Regions from separate parts of the Homo sapiens genome. Here regions 2, 3, 4, 5 and 6 are each linked to region 1. Evidence: promoter capture Hi-C in 16 types of primary human blood cells and fetal thymus (Javierre and others, 2016). All regions are on one chromosome and are shown on one strand. The core of a region is centred on a gene start or on the middle of the fragment in contact, and the rest is flanking DNA. Distances in the headings are between cores, read along the strand shown. Region 1 holds the start of UBQLN1 (ubiquilin 1). Region 2 overlaps FRMD3-AS1 (FRMD3 antisense RNA 1). Region 3 has its middle 100 kb from the start of SLC28A3-AS1. Region 4 overlaps FRMD3 (FERM domain containing 3). Region 5 overlaps FRMD3 (FERM domain containing 3). Region 6 overlaps FRMD3 (FERM domain containing 3).

What was found. Contacts are between HindIII fragments. The CHiCAGO score rates a contact against its expected background, and 5 or more counts as called.
Region 2: a fragment that was not itself captured here is called in contact with the fragment with the promoter of UBQLN1 in region 1 in 1 of 17 cell types (monocytes); the score reaches 6.1 in monocytes.
Region 3: a fragment that was not itself captured here is called in contact with the fragment with the promoter of UBQLN1 in region 1 in 2 of 17 cell types (total CD4 T cells and total CD8 T cells); the score reaches 5.6 in total CD4 T cells.
Region 4: a fragment that was not itself captured here is called in contact with the fragment with the promoter of UBQLN1 in region 1 in 2 of 17 cell types (M1 macrophages and M2 macrophages); the score reaches 5.8 in M1 macrophages.
Region 5: a fragment that was not itself captured here is called in contact with the fragment with the promoter of UBQLN1 in region 1 in 2 of 17 cell types (erythroblasts and M1 macrophages); the score reaches 5.5 in erythroblasts.
Region 6: a contact is called between a fragment that was not itself captured here and the fragment with the promoter of UBQLN1 in region 1, in 1 of 17 cell types (monocytes). The highest score is 5.4, in monocytes.

Annotation. Positions count from the first base shown.
Region 1 is chr9:83,706,471-83,709,297 of GRCh38, reverse strand. It overlaps UBQLN1 (ubiquilin 1), which reads left to right and starts at 1,340. Exons shown (of 11, transcript NM_013438.5): 1 at 1,340-1,798. The coding sequence starts at 1,619. It overlaps UBQLN1-AS1 (UBQLN1 antisense RNA 1), which reads right to left and starts at 1,463. Exons shown (of 2, transcript NR_135839.1): 1 at 986-1,463. RefSeq lists enhancers at 538-1,426, 1,590-1,659, 1,427-2,317. The HindIII fragment of the contact is 7,028 bases long and covers 1-2,827 here.
Region 2 is chr9:83,235,638-83,238,464 of GRCh38, reverse strand. The region is part of intron 2 of FRMD3-AS1 (FRMD3 antisense RNA 1); the gene reads right to left. Among named protein-coding and RNA genes, the nearest start is that of FRMD3-AS1, 18 kb to the right of the region's middle. The HindIII fragment of the contact is 4,774 bases long and covers 1-2,827 here.
Region 3 is chr9:84,172,695-84,175,521 of GRCh38, reverse strand. No RefSeq gene overlaps it. Among named protein-coding and RNA genes, the nearest start is that of SLC28A3-AS1, 100 kb to the left of the region's middle. RefSeq lists an enhancer at 2,034-2,543. The HindIII fragment of the contact is 1,143 bases long and covers 916-2,058 here.
Region 4 is chr9:83,299,333-83,302,159 of GRCh38, reverse strand. All of the region lies in intron 10 of FRMD3 (FERM domain containing 3), which reads left to right. Among named protein-coding and RNA genes, the nearest start is that of FRMD3-AS1, 81 kb to the right of the region's middle. The HindIII fragment of the contact is 1,275 bases long and covers 724-1,998 here.
Region 5 is chr9:83,338,273-83,341,099 of GRCh38, reverse strand. All of the region lies in intron 5 of FRMD3 (FERM domain containing 3), which reads left to right. Among named protein-coding and RNA genes, the nearest start is that of FRMD3-AS1, 120 kb to the right of the region's middle. The HindIII fragment of the contact is 762 bases long and covers 1,082-1,843 here.
Region 6 is chr9:83,406,338-83,409,164 of GRCh38, reverse strand. All of the region lies in intron 1 of FRMD3 (FERM domain containing 3), which reads left to right. Among named protein-coding and RNA genes, the nearest start is that of FRMD3, 130 kb to the left of the region's middle. The HindIII fragment of the contact is 1,095 bases long and covers 881-1,975 here.

The DNA.
Region 1 (2,827 bases), core at 91-2,590:
AGTGATCATCTCACACCTGGACATAACCAAGTAGTCATCCTTCATTAAGCAGAAGGCCTTGTTATTGAGCCATGCTGCCAGAAATTTAGGTGATATCAAATGATGTCTATACTGAAATCGATACCCTCAGGATTCTCTTAGACCCAGATTCCATAGAGCTCTGCTAAAAAGTCGTGTTTATGTAACAGTATTTATTCTCAGAACAGGGTTGGACGGCTTAGGAGCAGAAAGGCAGAATGTATCTTTGCGGATTTGGGTCATAGTGGGCTGTCAGGATTTAAATTGTGCAACATTGATTAATAATGGGCTGGTTTGTACATTCCTTGCAAGTCATCTTTAAAAGCCAATGACGTCATTTCAAATTAGGATTCTCAGAGATAATTTCTCTCTGTATTACACTGAAAATAATTTTGGAACTATCCTTAATGCCACTTAAAGCCTGAAATTGACCAGTAACTTAATTTGATAGAATATAAGGCGAACACCTCAACTATATTAAATTGTCCCATTTGGGTGGACACTCCTCGGGCACCCTGTTCCGCCCTACACACAGATAATCTGGGGGCGCTCGCGCACAGCTGTCATCGTAGCAGCAGAGGCCACTGTCAATACAGGTTGCCTGACTGATCGTCTGACCAAACCGGGCTAACCCGAGGGCGGTAAATAAGCTCTGGCCATGAAGCAATGACTCCGCAGGATTGCGCAGGGCAGTCACGGGCGTTCACTCCATTTTCTGTTCGTTGTGCTGAGGCCTTTCCACCATTAACTTACCCCAACTCCCCCGCATAGGGCAATACGACCCCTCCAAATATCAAACGCTAAGCATATTAAAATAACAAAATACCTCGCCGCTATTTTATCACCAGACCCTCCTCCCAGCGGGGAACGCAGAGTAGACAGAGAGGCAAGGGAGGGCAAGGCGATTGTGACAGCGCGGAGGGGTGAACACGGCCCAGCTGGGCATGAGGTAAGGTGGGGAGACTACCTGGACAGCAAGCGCGCAGGCGCAGCCGCGGCCGCAGGGCCCACTGGTCCCTTTCTAGTAATTTCGCTAACCGTGACGTCATCTCGGTGCGCCGTTACAGCGCTTAACTGGAAACTGCGATTTAGTTTTTGGTGAAAGGAGTGGAAAAAAACCATGAACTGACCTACCCCGCCCCATTTTGCTTTTAGTCCTTCACACTGGCTTCGCCTGCACTTTGGGCAATGGAGCGGGAAAGGAAAAGGCACGCAGGCTGAGCTCAAAGTCGCGCCAGCCGGGGATGACTCGGCGACGCCGCCAGGCGCGTTACCCGGCGTGCTCCGCGCGGCGCCGGCGAAGGGACGTGGGGGAAGGGGCAGGGAGGAGGAAGCGGTGGCTGCTGCGGATGTCGGTGTGAGCGAGCGGCGCCTGAACACACGGCGGCTGCCGAGCGCCTGACCCGGGCCTGCGCCAGAGCCTGCACCGAGCTCCGGGGCCCCACACCCGCTACGGTGGCCCTGCGCCCGTTGCTACTGAGGCGGCGTGCTCTGCATTCTTCGCTGTCCAGGCCTGCCGGCTCTGGTGTCTGCTGGCTCCTCCTTGCTCGCCTGCTCCCTCCTGCTTGCCTGAGTCACCGCCGCCGCCGCCGCCACAGCCATGGCCGAGAGTGGTGAAAGCGGCGGTCCTCCGGGCTCCCAGGATAGCGCCGCCGGAGCCGAAGGTGCTGGCGCCCCCGCGGCCGCTGCCTCCGCGGAGCCCAAAATCATGAAAGTCACCGTGAAGACCCCGAAGGAAAAGGAGGAATTCGCCGTGCCCGAGAATAGCTCCGTCCAGCAGGTGAGGCCGCCTGGGGCTCGGGCCGGGATGGGGGTGGCGGCAGGACCTCCGCCCGCCGCCCCAGGAGACCTTTTGGAAGGGCCTGGGAGAGGGGTCGTCCTCGGCCATTCTCCCGGGCGTCGTCCCAAATTAGATCACACCCAAGTTCGTGGGTTTGCGCCTTGGGACACCGCAATGGTTTGTGGCGTGGCGGCGCGGCCTGTTTGTGGGACGGGCTGATGCCGCTTTTCTCGGAGCCTTCCTTCTCTGGTATCCGCCGACCCTCAGCCTCCTCCCCCAGTTCCCCGCCCTCCGTCGCCTCCCCTCCAACTCCTCACAAAGGAAAGGGACCCACCGCCAGCCTCCGGGCGGGGTGGAGGCTGGGCGGGGGCGAGGGTTCGCTTTAGCTCAGGCTGCGGTTTTGTTTCATGAATTAAAAAGGGGTGGGTGGGATCCTCGTTGTTTTACGTGCCTGCTTGTTAAGGTGGGTTTTGGGGTGAGGTGCATGTGTATATTTAGTTCTGCATTTTAACTCCTGAAATCTTTCCCACCTTGCAACCTTTAAAAAAAAATTATGACGTAGAAACTGTTTTTAGCTCCATCTTAAGTAATAGTGATAGTACTAGGTTTAAGGAGAAAAGTGAATGACTTTCTTTCACTGATGACTTGCTCTTTCCCTTTTAGTATGTTTATCATCTCTTAGATGCCAATCATTGGGTAGGTTTTTGTTTGATTTTAGAGGGGCGATAGCGATGTTGATATTAGCGGTTGCAATCAAATAAAAGAAAATCGGAGTGAATGCAGAATATTACTTAAACTTGGTTCAGGAATACAAATCTTGCAGTTAATTAAGATTCTTGGTGGAATTTAACAAATAATTTTAGTGTATTGTTGAATACGTCGTGTTTTCCATAATTACTGACTTAATCTCTGAAGATCGCAAACAACGTGAACAGTTGGTGACAGGAAACAACAATTCCTGAAATGTACCTATCAGTTTCCCCAGGGACAGTAGGTGATTGGGGTATTGGTTTAACGAGTTCCAAAGGT
Region 2 (2,827 bases), core at 83-2,582, 470 kb after region 1:
TCAGAGACCTTGTGTTTAATAAAATTTACAAAACTTTTAGAAGAAACATAAGATCAGATCTTTGTAACCTTTGATTAGAGAGGATGGTTTCTAAGGACAGCAAAAGCACTAGAGACAAAATAAAAAATAGGTAAATTAGATAGTAATAGATAAATTTAAAAACTTTTGTGCTTTAAAAGACACTGTCAAGAAAAGTGAAAAGACAAAACACTGAAGGGATGAAAATATTTTTAAATCATACATCCGATAATGAATTTGTACCCATAATACATAAAGAATACTTACAACTCAGTAATAAAAAACATAACCAATTTTTAAAGTAGGAAATGTTATCACAATAGACATTTTGGTAAAGGAAATATGCAAATGGATAGTAAGCACACGAAAAGATGTCCAATATCATTAGTCATTAAAGAAATGCAAATCAGTGCCACATTGAGATTCTACTTTACACCCACAAGAATGGCTATAATAAAAAGACAGGCCACGAAGTGTTGCTGAGGATGTGGATAAATTGAAACCCTCATATATTCCTGGTAAAAATGTAAAATTGTGCAGCTACTAGGCTGGGCGCGGTGGCTCACACCTGTAATTCCAGCACTTTGGGAGGCCGAGGCGGGCAGATCACGAGGTCAGGAGATCGAGATCATCCTGGCTAACACGGTGAAACCCCGTCTCTACTAAAAATACAAAAAATTAGCCGGGCGCTGTGGCGGGCGCCTGTAGTCCCAGCTACTCCGGAGGCTGAGGCAGGAGAATGGCGTGAACCCGGGAGGCAGAGCTTGCAGTGAGCCGAGATCGCGCCACTGCACTCCAACCTGGGCGAAAGAGCGGGACTCCGTCTAAAAAAAAAAAAAATTGTGCAGCTACTTTGGAAAACAGTTTCGTAGTTCTTCAAAAAGTTAAGCATAAGGTTACCATACAAGCCAGCAATTCCACTCTTAGGTATATACTCAAGAGAACAGAAAACATATATTTACACAAAAAAATGGGTAATTTTCATAGCAGCACTTTGCATAATAGCACAGAAGTGGAAACAACCCGTATGTCCATCGGTTCGTAAATTGCATAAACAAATGTAGTGTATCCATTCCATAAAAATGAATGAAGTATTGGTACACGCTACACCATGGATGAACTTTGAAAACATTATGCTAAGTAAAAGAAGCCAAAAGCAAAAGGCCATCTATTGCATGATTTGATTTATATAAAATGTCCAGAATAGGCAAATCTATAGAGACAGAAAGTAGATTAGTGATTTCCACGGGTAGGGAGAATGAAGAATGACTGCTAATAGGTACAGAGTTTCTTTTTTGGGTGATAAAATTTTTCTTTGAATTATGTAGTTGCGATGGTCGCATGACTCTGTGAACAAAGACCAATGAATTTTATGCATTATTTATGGTATGTTAATTATAGCTCAACAAAGCTGTTAGCAAAAATTATATTTGTTGTGGTTCACTATGTTATTTTTTAACATATTTTGTGAGGAGTACGAGTTGAGTAGCTTTATTATAACCAAGAACCTTTCCATTTCTATTTGTCAGCAAGTTTTGTCAGTACTTAATTCTATCAAAATGAAAAATAGATAATGCTGAACCCAGTTTCATTTTAGCGATAAGTAATATTTGTGCATAAAGATTAAATAATTTGATTTATACCATTGATATTTACTTCTAATAAATTTTTAACTTTTGTTCAATAGTTACTTAAGCTATTATGAAATAACTATTAATATTTTCTTATGAACTATGAATATTAATATTTTAATAGATTCTACAAAAACTATTAAAAACAAAAATTTTAATTTTTTTACACAAAATAATTTTGTGCATCATTATTAGTGCTTCTGTAAAAATGACAAAAGGCCAGAGTATAAAATTGCTGCCTAGGAGATACTGATATAAAGATAGAAGTAGCTGGCATATCTGGAACAGAAAGTCGGTGTAATATGATGGCTAAGAGCTCAGGCTCTCCAGCCAGATGGCCTCAGCTCTGGTCTCAGCTTTCCTGCTCTTCTTAGGTGTAACTTTAGGTAACTCATTTGATCTCTTGAATTCTTGGCATCCTCATCTTTAAAATTATGTTTAACTACAGCACTTATCTCAGAGCTGTTATGGAATTTAAAAATAAGTTAGAATTTGCAAATCCCTTAGCAAAGTCTTGGACATGTAGTAACTACTTGAGAAATGCTAGGAGTTAAGGCCCATAATCTGGCACCTCCAGGTCATTCTAGACTCATCGTAACCATTTCACTCTTTGAGGACATCCTGTTCTACTGAAGTAATAGCATCATGGTGGCAATGCATAACAAAATTGGATTTGGAAGTTTCAGAAGATATAACAAGAACCAGAATTTGCTTCTAAAAAACATCTATTTTTCTTCTACATTTATTTATAAACAAAACATCTCGTTGCCTATAACGTGGATACACATCCAAAATAGTAAGACATCAGAAAATAGAATACATCAAAATTCCTTTCAGGAGGAAACTGTGTTTGTAAGAAAGAAATGTTTTTTTCTAAGTTGTTCAAAGTAGGGAGTATATTGCAAATGTATAGTCAAGTTACAAATGCAAGGTCTCCTGATTTCTTTCTCTGCGTGACTTTCTTTTTTCTGGTCCTCTGTCCTGTGCTATTTACCTTTTGATAAATGTTCGATGTGGAAGTTGATTCTCAGAACCCTTGGCACAATAGCCTTGGTTACCCACATCCATTTCAAGAGCTCCTAACAGTTTGGAAACACTGGATCTTGCTTTGGGTGCAGTTGAATCTTCAACCCCTGTGGTGAGACCTATTTCTATGTAGATTAGAAAGAAACAATGAT
Region 3 (2,827 bases), core at 238-2,737, 470 kb before region 1:
TCTCCACTGGAGATAATGATGCTTAAAAGACTCATGGCAGGAGGGACTCTGTGGGTGGAGCAGTCAAAAGAGCAGAGTTTTGGGGGTCAGAGAGACCCCAGTGAAAATCCTGGCTTTGCCCTTTAATAACTGCTTTGTCTGGTAAGTTTCATCTCTTCGCTCAAGTGGAGATGACACTGCCTTCTTCACAGGGCTGCAGCCACAATTACAGATGGCAGTGAAAAGGGCTTTGCTCATCAACTGGCCTAAAGGACTGTTTTTATGACAGATAAATCCCAAAACTTAATGTTACTTATTTCTAATCTCTTCTACTTTAGCCCTGGAGAAATGTTGCTGAAAAGGAACAAAACATCTGATTAGACTTTATTTCTTTTTTAAATCTTTCTTTCTCTATTTCAGACTTTAACTAATGGGAAAGTGGCCACAAGTATGTTGAACAGAAAAGGAGAGAGAACAAAGGGTTTCGATAACCCACAAACTATACCTGCTATTCTAGGTGGGCCGAATTTTGTCCAGCATCAAGTAGACAGATACTCAAAATGAAAAATATGCTTTATTTGTGGATGTCAGAAAAGATTTAATTAGAGGCAGCTTTAAAAACTGGGTGATTAGGGTCAAGCAATTTCATTGACACATTAAATAAGACTTACAGTTGAGTATCATGCCAAAGTTAACTACTTAGAACTACCAATATGTACGAAATCTGGGTAGATGAGACTGCTGGTATTACCCAATATCTATTCTCTTCTTCCACAGCAAGAGAATTTTTAGCTGAGCATATGAACTCCCAGAATAATAACTGCATTTCTTACCCTCTCTTGCAGATAGGTGTGGTCAAGTTATTAAGTTCTAGGCAAAGAAATGTAAGAGGAAGTGGTGTATGCAACATCACAGAAGTGTCCTTATAGGGAAGCTTCTTTTCCTCCTTTCTGCTGGCTGGAATGGGGACATGATGGCTTGAACTGGAGAAGCCATTCAATGTTCCCTGGTATTATGAATAATCACACCAGCCCCTAGACCATTTACTCAGACTTTCACATGAAAAAAATAAATTTCCATCTTTGTTCCACCACTCATTATTTTGGATTTTCTGTTGCTCACAGCTGATTCTAATCCTAATTCAGTCTGGGTGGCATGAATATACAATTGGCTGTGAATTGTTGAATTTCTTGATTTTTTTAATGCATCAAAATCAGGCATTAAAATGCATTGGCTTGGTTTTCTGTATTTGCTGTTTCTGCTATTAACAGAAGTCCTGCTTTATGAAGCAACAGGAACTGCCTTGGTTATTGTTTATATAAAATTTGCTTTGCATGTACAAAAATCTCATTTATCTTGCCATCTGATACTTGGTAGATTTGGGTGTTTAATGGATCTTTGTTACCAAATATTTTTTCACTCATTGTATACAGATGCTGCTCTTGGGCTATAGCCATCCTTCCTAACAAGCAAAAATCCTCAGAAGATATTTCCAGGTTTTTTTATTGAGGATGCGGGTGGTGATGGATAGCTCATCTCCCCGAAGTCATCCAGTAACCCAATTCTACAGACACTTTTTTTGTTGTTGTTGTTATTTGGATCAGGGCTCCATCTCCTCATTCCTCTCCTTTGTTTTATTTTTTGCTTTTTTGCAACAGAAACAGAGATCTGAATTACATTAATAAAATAGAAAAACAGAGTGTCTGCCTGTCCTCCCCCTCTCCCTCTCTTCCTTCCTTTTTTTTTTCCTCTCTCTCTCTCTCTCTTGACTTTGAGTGAAATATGCCTTTCTAAGACTAAGGCAAATGAACTTTTGGGAGGAAGAGGATCCAAATACATAAAACTTTGCATAATCTCTCAAGGGCTGGTGAGCCCCTGGGAGTCTTTTCAGGAACACTGAATTAAGGACCAGTGTCCTTGAGTTTATTCCAGAAAGCTGGAAGCGCTCCAGTTTACAGGTAACCTCAAGCTCTAATACAATTATCCCCCATTCACACTCTCCCTTTGTGATTTGTCAAATACCCGAATACCATTACTTTCCACTTCGGTTTAAATTGACTCACTTTTGAAACTTAAGCTTCACTAATATCCATGAAATCACAGATACGGTGTGCAATTTATATTTTTTCTAATACATGTTAAAACACATGGCCATTAAAATAAAAGTATGTGCCCATGTGCCATTGTTTTAGGTTGGGTTGAGACTAGGACTAGAGTACAAATCATCTATTTGAGAGGTGTTCCCAAGAAGCACCACTAGGGGGCCGGGGAAATAAGTGTGAAGAGAGGAAAGTCAATCCAGGGAGCATTACGGTCTTTGGGGTTGCATCCCTGCGGACCCCCTAAGAAAGCTGGAGAATGAGCCTCAGAGTTTTACCCACCATCTTCCCTTCGTCATTCTTTGAAAGCTACTCTCGTGGATGTGACCATTAACTCCTACCACTGCAGGCCCGCTGTGAAGGTGGGCAAGCCAGCTCCTGCAATCTGAGTTACAGACATTTGCAGTTAAGAAGCCGTCAGCACAGGCCGGGCCGGGCGCGGTGGCTCACGCCTGTAATCCCAACACTTTGGGAGGCCGAGGTGGGCGGATCACGAGGTCAAGAGATCAAGACCTTCCTGACCAACATGGTGAAACCCCGTCTCTACTAAAAATACAAAAAATTAGCTCGGCATGGTGGCGGGCGCCTGTAGTCCCAGCTACTCGAGAGGCTGAGGTAGGAGGATCGCTTGAACCCGGGAGGCGGAGATTGCAGTGAGCCGAGATTGCGCCACTGCACTCCAGCCTGGTGACAGAGCGAGACTCCGTCTCAAAAAACAAACAAACAAAAAACAGAAGCCATCAGCACAG
Region 4 (2,827 bases), core at 112-2,611, 410 kb after region 1:
CATGTACTTTAACCTGGCCACCATTCTTTCTCCTCTCTCCATTCCCCTCCCCTCTACAGCCTTGTTTCCCAATTCCCAGTGCATGGGTGTCATTTGAGCTCTCAGAATAAACTGCCTGTTAACGTTTCATTAAAAATCTCAGCTGAAACATTCTGGGAGTTCACCTGGACATTTGGGAGGGCAGGGGATTCGTGGGAATGCTCTGAGGCAACTGTCTCTGAGCAAATCAGATCACCTGCAGATACTCCTCCAGGGGAACCCGCAGCCAGAAAGACGCACAGTCTTTTCTCTCTGCTCATCCTGAGCATACAGCTACTGGCCATCTTTGTGAAATGTATCTTTTGACCTGCTTCTTTTGAGTCACTTTGAGGGTTTTTGGGAAGCAGTACTGAGACTGAGACTTCCCTCTAAGAGGCCAGTCTGGGTTCAAGCCGATGATAGTGGCTTCCTCCTGGGGCCTGGAAGGGCCAGAGCTAAGGCCAAACTAGTGAAAAAGAGCCACCTGAGTGGCCAGGAGGTTGACTCACACCTGCGCCGGCTTTGCCGGCTTCACGTGTCGCTTCTGTAGAATGGGCAAAGTGTTGAGTTTGAATTTTAAAAACCCAATTAAGAAACTCAATCTTTTTTTTTTTTTAAGCCAACCACTTTGTCCCAAGGATCTTTAGGAACTTGGAATTAAAAAAAAACACATACACAATAAAAAATAGAAGCTTCTTTAAAGCTTTCTCTTCTCCCAATCTTTGAGGACTTGGGAGCAACCCTTCCAAGAAGATGGGGAGAGGGCAGAGGTGATTGTCCTTTTCTCAGGCTCCAGTAGATAAAGTGTCAGGCCACAGCTCTGTAGGGCTAGTGGGGAGTTTTAGGGGGTGCAGATGGACCCAGAGCAGGCATGTCCTCATAGGAGGTGGAGGGCACAGCTGGGACCATCTCAATGCAGCTTGCTGGGGGTTTCTAGCCTCGTGAGTGGGTGTGGTCTGGAAGGAAGCTCCAGCCAGCACACTGCAGGGCCCCCCCCAGGGCCATGGCTCTCACGTGCCTCTGTGTGTCCTCAGGGGTCCTGTACCATTTTCTCTGGGCCCTGCCCTGACAGGATCCCCCTGCCAAGCCCTGTGCCCTCCCTTGCCCATCTTACTCTCCCTGCTTAATATTTGTGTCCAGTGCCCTTCTGTGTCATCTTTGGCTGTTTACACAGGTGGTGGGAAGGGGCTTCTTTGCAAAAGATTGTTCCTATGGCTTTCCATTGTTCTCTCGATAAAGACCAAGATCCTTAACAAGGACCACTTAAGGTCTGGTCCTGGGAAATTGGATTCTGGCTCTCTGTCCAAGTTTGCCTTATTCTCCTTCGTACATCTGTACATTCACTTATCTTTATTAGGAAAGGAAAAAAAATATGTGTGTGTGTAGTAATAATAACATGGGAAAATGTGCATTGAGTCTTTTAAAAATGTATTTTATATATTTTTAAAAAATTTCAATACCTTTTGGGGTACAAATGGTTTTCAATTACATGGATGAATTATATTGTGGTAAATTCTGAGATTTTGGAGCACCTGTCAATTAGTGTATATTGCACCTAATGTGTAGTTTTTATCCCTGGCCCCTACTACCCTCCCCTTCTGAGTCTATAAAGTCCATTATATCACTCTGTATGCCTTTGCATATGCATAGCTTAGCTCCCACTTAGAAGTGAGAATATAGAATTTTTGGTTTTCCATTCCTGAGTTGCTTAACTTAGAATAATTGAGTGTTTTGAGTTCTCTAGATGTTTAGGCTGATGGCTTTGCGCCTGCTGGCCCTCTGCTGGGTATATCCACCACCACTTGCACCGTGCCCTGGTTAACACCTTTCAGCCTCTGGATCTCAACTCAGATGTCCCTTCCTCAGGGCATCTTCTCTGGCCCCCAGGCTAGATCAGCCATGTGTCTTTCTTGTACTTACCTTGGTGTGTAGAGCAGGGATGGCACTCAGTTAATGATTGCTGAGTGAATAAAGGAAGCTTCAAGAGGCTCAAGGGTGGGGATCACTGCGCTGAAACTTCCCTGGCTCCGTGCATGTCTTTGCTCAGGATGCTACAGATCATATTGATTTTGTCTGTGTGTGTTTAAGATTTTGTGACTATCAATATTTTAAACGATGCTGAACTCTCTGAGACCTGTTCTTTCTAACTTGTTGGATTTAATTGTACAAGGCTTAACATGACTGCTGTAGAGCCATCCTCAGCTGTCACAGTAATTTAGTGCCCTGTGTGCAGCCTTCCGGCAGCCCAGGCTCTAGGCTGCTTTTCAGAGTGTTGTTGTTTTGCTCTTATTTACGAGTAGGGCTCAGAGGTGCTGAATCAGTTCTTGTCTGGGCAGCTTCTGCCTCGTGTATCTTAGTCATCTACCACTGTGGGTTCTTTTAAAGGGCACTGGGTCATGGTGACACAGAAGCCAGTGACCATTCCTGTGGTGATGCGGGACCCTTGTTCCCTCACTTGGGCAATGCACAGTGAGTTCTTCGTGGCATAGTCAGTGACCTCTGTTGCCAGGAAGCTGTTTTCTGCCTCACTGTGGATACAGGAATAGGCAGCAAAGTGCCCTAACAACCACGAACTTCCTGATGCCATGTCACAAAATTCCCTCTTCTCCATATCTTCAGATAGAAATTAGGGGAGAATTCCTTCTGATCATCACTGCCCAGTCCTTTTTGCAGGTTGTGACCCACTAATGAATTATGAAACCCAGTATGTGGGTCATGAATTTAAAAAGAATGAAAGGAAATAGCGTAGAAAATATTAGAATGCAATACACATAGTGAAAGTAACTATTCTTTTGTGAAGCTTTTCTTA
Region 5 (2,827 bases), core at 213-2,712, 370 kb after region 1:
CAGAACTGCTTATTCTTACAGAGTAATAGGGAAGATGGAGTAAGTGATTAGCAATCTTATTCTTACAGAGTAATAGGGAAGATGGAGTAAGTGATTAGCAATCAGGAGGCACTGTCGCCCCTCATCGTCTTGTTTGCTAATGCTCTTTCAAGGAGTATGTTTTAAGCTTCAGTATATTCTGAGTTTATAAAAAACAGTCAATCAAGTTGGATGTGGTGGTGCACACCTGTAATTCCAGCTACTTGGGAGGCTGAGGCAGGAGGATTTCTTGAGGCCAGGAGTTTGATACTAGCCTGGGCAACATAGACAAGACCTTGTCTCCACAAGGAATACAAAACCAGTCAATCACCTGGAGTTTTGCTGCCTGTACATACTGAATCCAACGAGCATATTTAAGACATGCAATGCATTTTCTTTCATAATACAAATTGCAAAACAAACACAGAATCCTTGGGATCTATTTATATTCTTTCTTGGTAAAAATATCTTTCCTGTTCCTTTTACAAAACAACACCACAGAGGAATTCAACTTATCTCCTCTGCCTGGTATGTTCAACCCCTGTAGAAATCTTGACTCCTGCTGGATATTCAGAACTCAGTCCCGAAGTCACTTCCTCTGGTAAGTCTACCTGGACCACTCGAGCTAAAGCAGCTCCCTCCTGCACGTCATTCTTTCTCAGAGCCCTGTTGTGTTTTCTTGCAAACACTTAGATCTTGAGTTGTTTTTGGGCTTATTGTGCATTTCCTCTTATATAGAATCTAATTCCATGGGAGTAGGATCTGGGTGCTTTTTCACAGCACTCTTCCTGTGTCTGGCACACAGCAGGTTCTCCACTAAATATGTTAAATGAATCAGGGCACTTGCCTGAAATGAATCGGGGCACTTGCCTAAACTCCAGGTGATTGACAGGTTTTGTATTTTTTTGTAGGCAGGATCTCACTGTGTTACTCAGGGTGGTCTCAAACTCTGACCTCAAGCAATCCTCCTACCTCAGCCTCCCAAGTAACTGGGATTACAGGTGTGCACCACCACACCTGGCTTGATTGACTGTTTTTAATAAACTCAGAATATACTGAAGCTTCAAACTTGCCCTGATTAACCATGGTTAATTAAATTAGTCACAACCATTTAACGTTTAAATTTAACATTTCGTTAAATGACTGTGCCTGATTCATTTAACATTTAGTTAAATGATTGTGCCTGATTCATTTAACTATGGGAAAGACTGGTTGGCCGCCTGCTGGGATGGTATCACTACCTCATTCATTCATTTGTTCATGTGTTCTCCAAATACTTCCTGAGAAGTTGCTAGGGGGCCACATGGCAATACAAAGTTCCTGTGGGAAGATGGATAAGGAAACAGGCCATTGTGACCCTGCGTTGTTGGTTAGATGGAGGAACACACAGGCCCAGTCCCTGCTATGAGTGTCCCAGGAGGGCTCCTGACTTAGCAAGCATGGGTCAGGGAAAGCTCCTGAAGGAGTTGGCCCTGGAGCTAAAGGTCCTGCATCTCAAATTCTTTTGGAATGAGTCCTTTCCAAACCAGGGGAAAGCCTGTTGCTTTTTAGACTTACTGTTTCTGACCTTACTCACCCATTCACTTCAAACTCATTGGATTTTTCTCTTAGAATTGAATCCTTTTAGAAAAGTGCTAGAGCTGGTTTCAAACCGCAGGGCCTCCAGTTGTATGTCATTTGTCACGACTTCAACTTCCAAGTCATGAGCAGGAGGGAGAACCATGGCGGCTTACCCAACTCCTCTTGGTATGAATAGCTAGAAATCTTTATTCATTTTAAAAAACCTGCCTTCTGCTTAAGGAGAGGTCAGAGTTAAAGACAAGCTTTAGGGAATCAGAGCAGGGCCTGTGATGGGGACAGTGTTAATCTTGTCAGCAATCCGGTGCAGTCTTCACAGCATTTCTTCTCTAACTTTTCTAACATTTGCAGTGTGTAGCATTGCAAGTCTATAATATCTCACAAGATTTCCTGGAAAGAAAAGGGCACCCTGAAAAACGATGCCCTCCCTCACCAACCACTCTGCAAGCTGACATTTGCATTGAAGATGACCCAGTTTCATATTGGTGGTCCATTGTCCCATCACCTTTGGAAATTACCTATGGAAAATGGAAGCACTGGGATCGTCCATCTCCTAAATATTAATGCCTGTAGCTAGCTCACAGGGGCACAAGCGTGTATGTGTGTAAAGGTGGACATGTTACGTGTATTTCTTTTGGAACATAGGTTGAGTTAATCATCAGTTTATGGCCCACCTCTCATCATTGGTCCCTTTAGGCCCATGGATTGATTGATTGATTTCCCTTTTTCCATTATTCTCCATTTCCACTCCTAAGGGCAATGCTGGGTTCATATACATATCTTTGTCTTTGTATCCATCCTTATAAAATGATTAATATTGTTTTTTTGTGTCTATACTTCTAAATTTCATAAATTAAATGATGCTATAGAACTCATTGTATTCCCTCCTTCTTACGCTCAGAACACTGCTTTTGGGATCTGTCCATATTGCATACGTACATCTTATTTTGTTGATTTTAACTGTGACAGAGTGTCCCAAAGGGTGCGTCTTCCATGTTTTACTTATCTAGCTGTCCCACTAACAATAAACACCCAAGTTGCCTCCAACTTCTGACTATTATGATTAATGCTGTCATAAAAAAAACCTTGAACATATCCTTTTTTTGCACCTAGAGTTTTTCTAGGAAAAATGCCCAGAAATGGGATTGCTAGGTCATAATATTTGACTAAAAACTCCCACCTTGCTCTCTGGAGGAGCAACATGCATCTAGCACCCTTCAGCAGTGCACAA
Region 6 (2,827 bases), core at 179-2,678, 300 kb after region 1:
AAATGGGGCTGCATTCTGGGAACCTGGTGGAGAAAAGGTTGACCTCCATGCCTGGGGATGGACAACCTTTGCTTTCCCGAGTATGCTGCTGACCTGCATGGAACTGATTCTTTGGGGGCAATAGAGAGGTGTATGTAATTTATCGCAGCATTCTTTGAGCTGCCTGGGTAGACTTTCAGGACAATGGATTGCACACTATGTTGGCTCTGGCAGGGTTGCTGCTCTCTTCCTTCTCGCCTCTTTCTCAGGAGGGAATGGGAAATCCATTTCCAAATTGAGCTGTGTGTGGTCTCCCCACCATCTTCCCTGCACCTGAATGGTTAATCTTCCAGTTCACGTGTTTCTGCATGGATTGTGTCCGAGGGTGCCTGTGGTAGCAGCTTAACTCTGCTCTGGTAATTAGTGATGAAAGGAGAGGATGCAGAAGGCTCAACCTGAGAGGCAGAATGACTTCACTGAAGAGTCAAGTCAGAAGAAATAAAATTTAGGGGTTGACACCAAGGTCAGTTCCCAAACCCAGGCTGGAAGAGATACAGTAATCTATTTTCCATAAATCAACCTAGTTTTCATATCAAGCCCCTTTCCCCCTGGGGTAGCTGGAAACATTTTCATGTGTCTTTTCTGAACTTTCCCCCACCTGGGGGTTGTGCCTAGTTTCTGGAGTCTCACTGGGTGCCAAGAAATGGGAGGGAGGCATGTTCATTATTGGCTAGATGTCCACATCAGCCTGACCCTTGGGCCCAGTGGGGGTTCTTAGGACATGACAACCTGGTGAGGGCAGAAAGCCCCATGTTTGTGATATTTTTTTTTTCCTAGATAGACCATATTTTTCCTCCCGAATATCCTTGTGCCAACACAGAGCACATCCAGGGAGCAAGCTTGGTTCATACAGCTTGTTCCTTTCTTCGTTTTAATCTGAAAGAAGAATCTTTTATTCCCCTGTGGCACATTAAATAAAGATAGCCATACATTCTTTGCTTTCATCTCGTTGAGAGGACATGTTTAATTCCCTTTCCCTTGAATCCAGGTTGGCCATAGTGACTCACTTGTAATCAGTAGAATGCAGTGGAAGTGACAATGTGTGAAAAGCAACCTCTGCCTGGACCCTTTGGGAATGCTCATCTTGCAGGAGGCTGGCTGCTGATGGAGAAGTCTGGCTTCCTGGAGACTGCCATGGTGTAAGGAAGCCCAAGCTAGCTACACACATGGAGAGCTGCATGGAGAGAAAGAGAAAGAGAAAGGGGAGGGAGAGAGAAAGATGAGAGAGAGAGAGAGAGAGAGAGAGAAAGATGAGAGAGAGAGAGAGAGAGAGAGAGAGAGAGAGAGACTCAACAACCCCCCTCCTCTGCTGGCCAGACCAGTCTAGGCACCAGACATGTGAGTGAAGAAATCTTCAGTTGCTTCCACATCAGACTCCAGTAATATAGAGGAACCCAGACAAGATCCATCCAGTTGAGCTCAGTCAATACAAAGAACTGTGAGAGAATACTTATTGGTTTTTGCTCCTATGTTTTAGAGTGGCTTGTTACACAGGAACAGATAACTAGAACACTTCTCATATTCTATTCTCAGTGGATTTAGACATATGAAAACAAAATCCAAGAGGTCTCACCAGCTACTAATTTTCATTCTGCTACATATAGCCTCCAAGGAGGGTAGGGATTGTGGAGCCGAATGCCTTTTTAAAGTGGGAGTGGAGGCTGGGGGAAATACAGAGATTAAAAATTCCCTAAGTTATATCTACACAATTTTCTCCCATAATTTAGACTTCTAGTAGTATGCAATTCCACCATTATATCCTTGTTGGGGTTGGCCATTTTTAGAATTTTTGGATTTGGGAAGTGGATAGGTAAAAATGGTGCTTTGTTATGGTTTAATGAATATTTGTACCAAGTATTTACTGTGTGTACAAATTATCCTGTAAAGTACAATGAAAAACTTGATGAAAAATAAGTTCACTTGAGAAAAGGAAGCTTAAGATAAGTGATGAAACTGGAATTACACCATCATGAGAAATGACCGTGACAGTATTTCATCCATTTCCAAATGAGGTCAGAGGACAGAAAGGTCAGCGAGGGTGTGGGGAGTCTGTGAGGCCTCTCATGCAGAAGCAGGATCTGCAGCGAACTCTCTGCCAGGATCAGGTGAACACATCAGTGACAAAATTTTGATAGGTGGTGAGAAGGGCTTTATTCACACAGGGGAATGGCAAGAGTGAAACCAACCATGGTGGTGGGGCATTTTGCGGAGTATTTGGAGTGATAAAATAAACTGGAGGAAAATATGGAAAATAAATTAAACAGAAAACAACAACAGGAACAACAACAAAATAAAACCCAGCAACTTGAAGAAGAGATACATACAGTTTACATTTCTGGATTTCTCTGCTCTCTTCTATGGGCTGTGTCCTCACCGATGCTGGCTAACATTTACTGACCACCAAATAAGGACCCGTTGACAACATGTCAATTGCCCAATGGCAAGGAACCAACTCTCTGAGATGATGCATATAACTTGGGGGAGCAGCACTCGTGGGTTGAAAGTTACGTTCTGATCTGGGAGGGTTATCATCAGGACCTTGTCTTGACTCACAAGAGAAAAAGCCATCCTTCCTTCCTTTCCTGAGCTCTTTAAAATTAACCAGTGAGTTACCTGTGGGAACTTTCCTCCATCCTAAGAGCCCTAGCTGGAATCTTTGGGCTGCTGTTTTTCTTTGTGTGCACAAAGCATATATGTATAAGTTCTGCAGTGGAGACCCGGAGTAAGGCTACCCAACTGGTCCTCCAGACACTGCAGTTCATTGTGAGGAATTCCTTGGCTCTAGTAG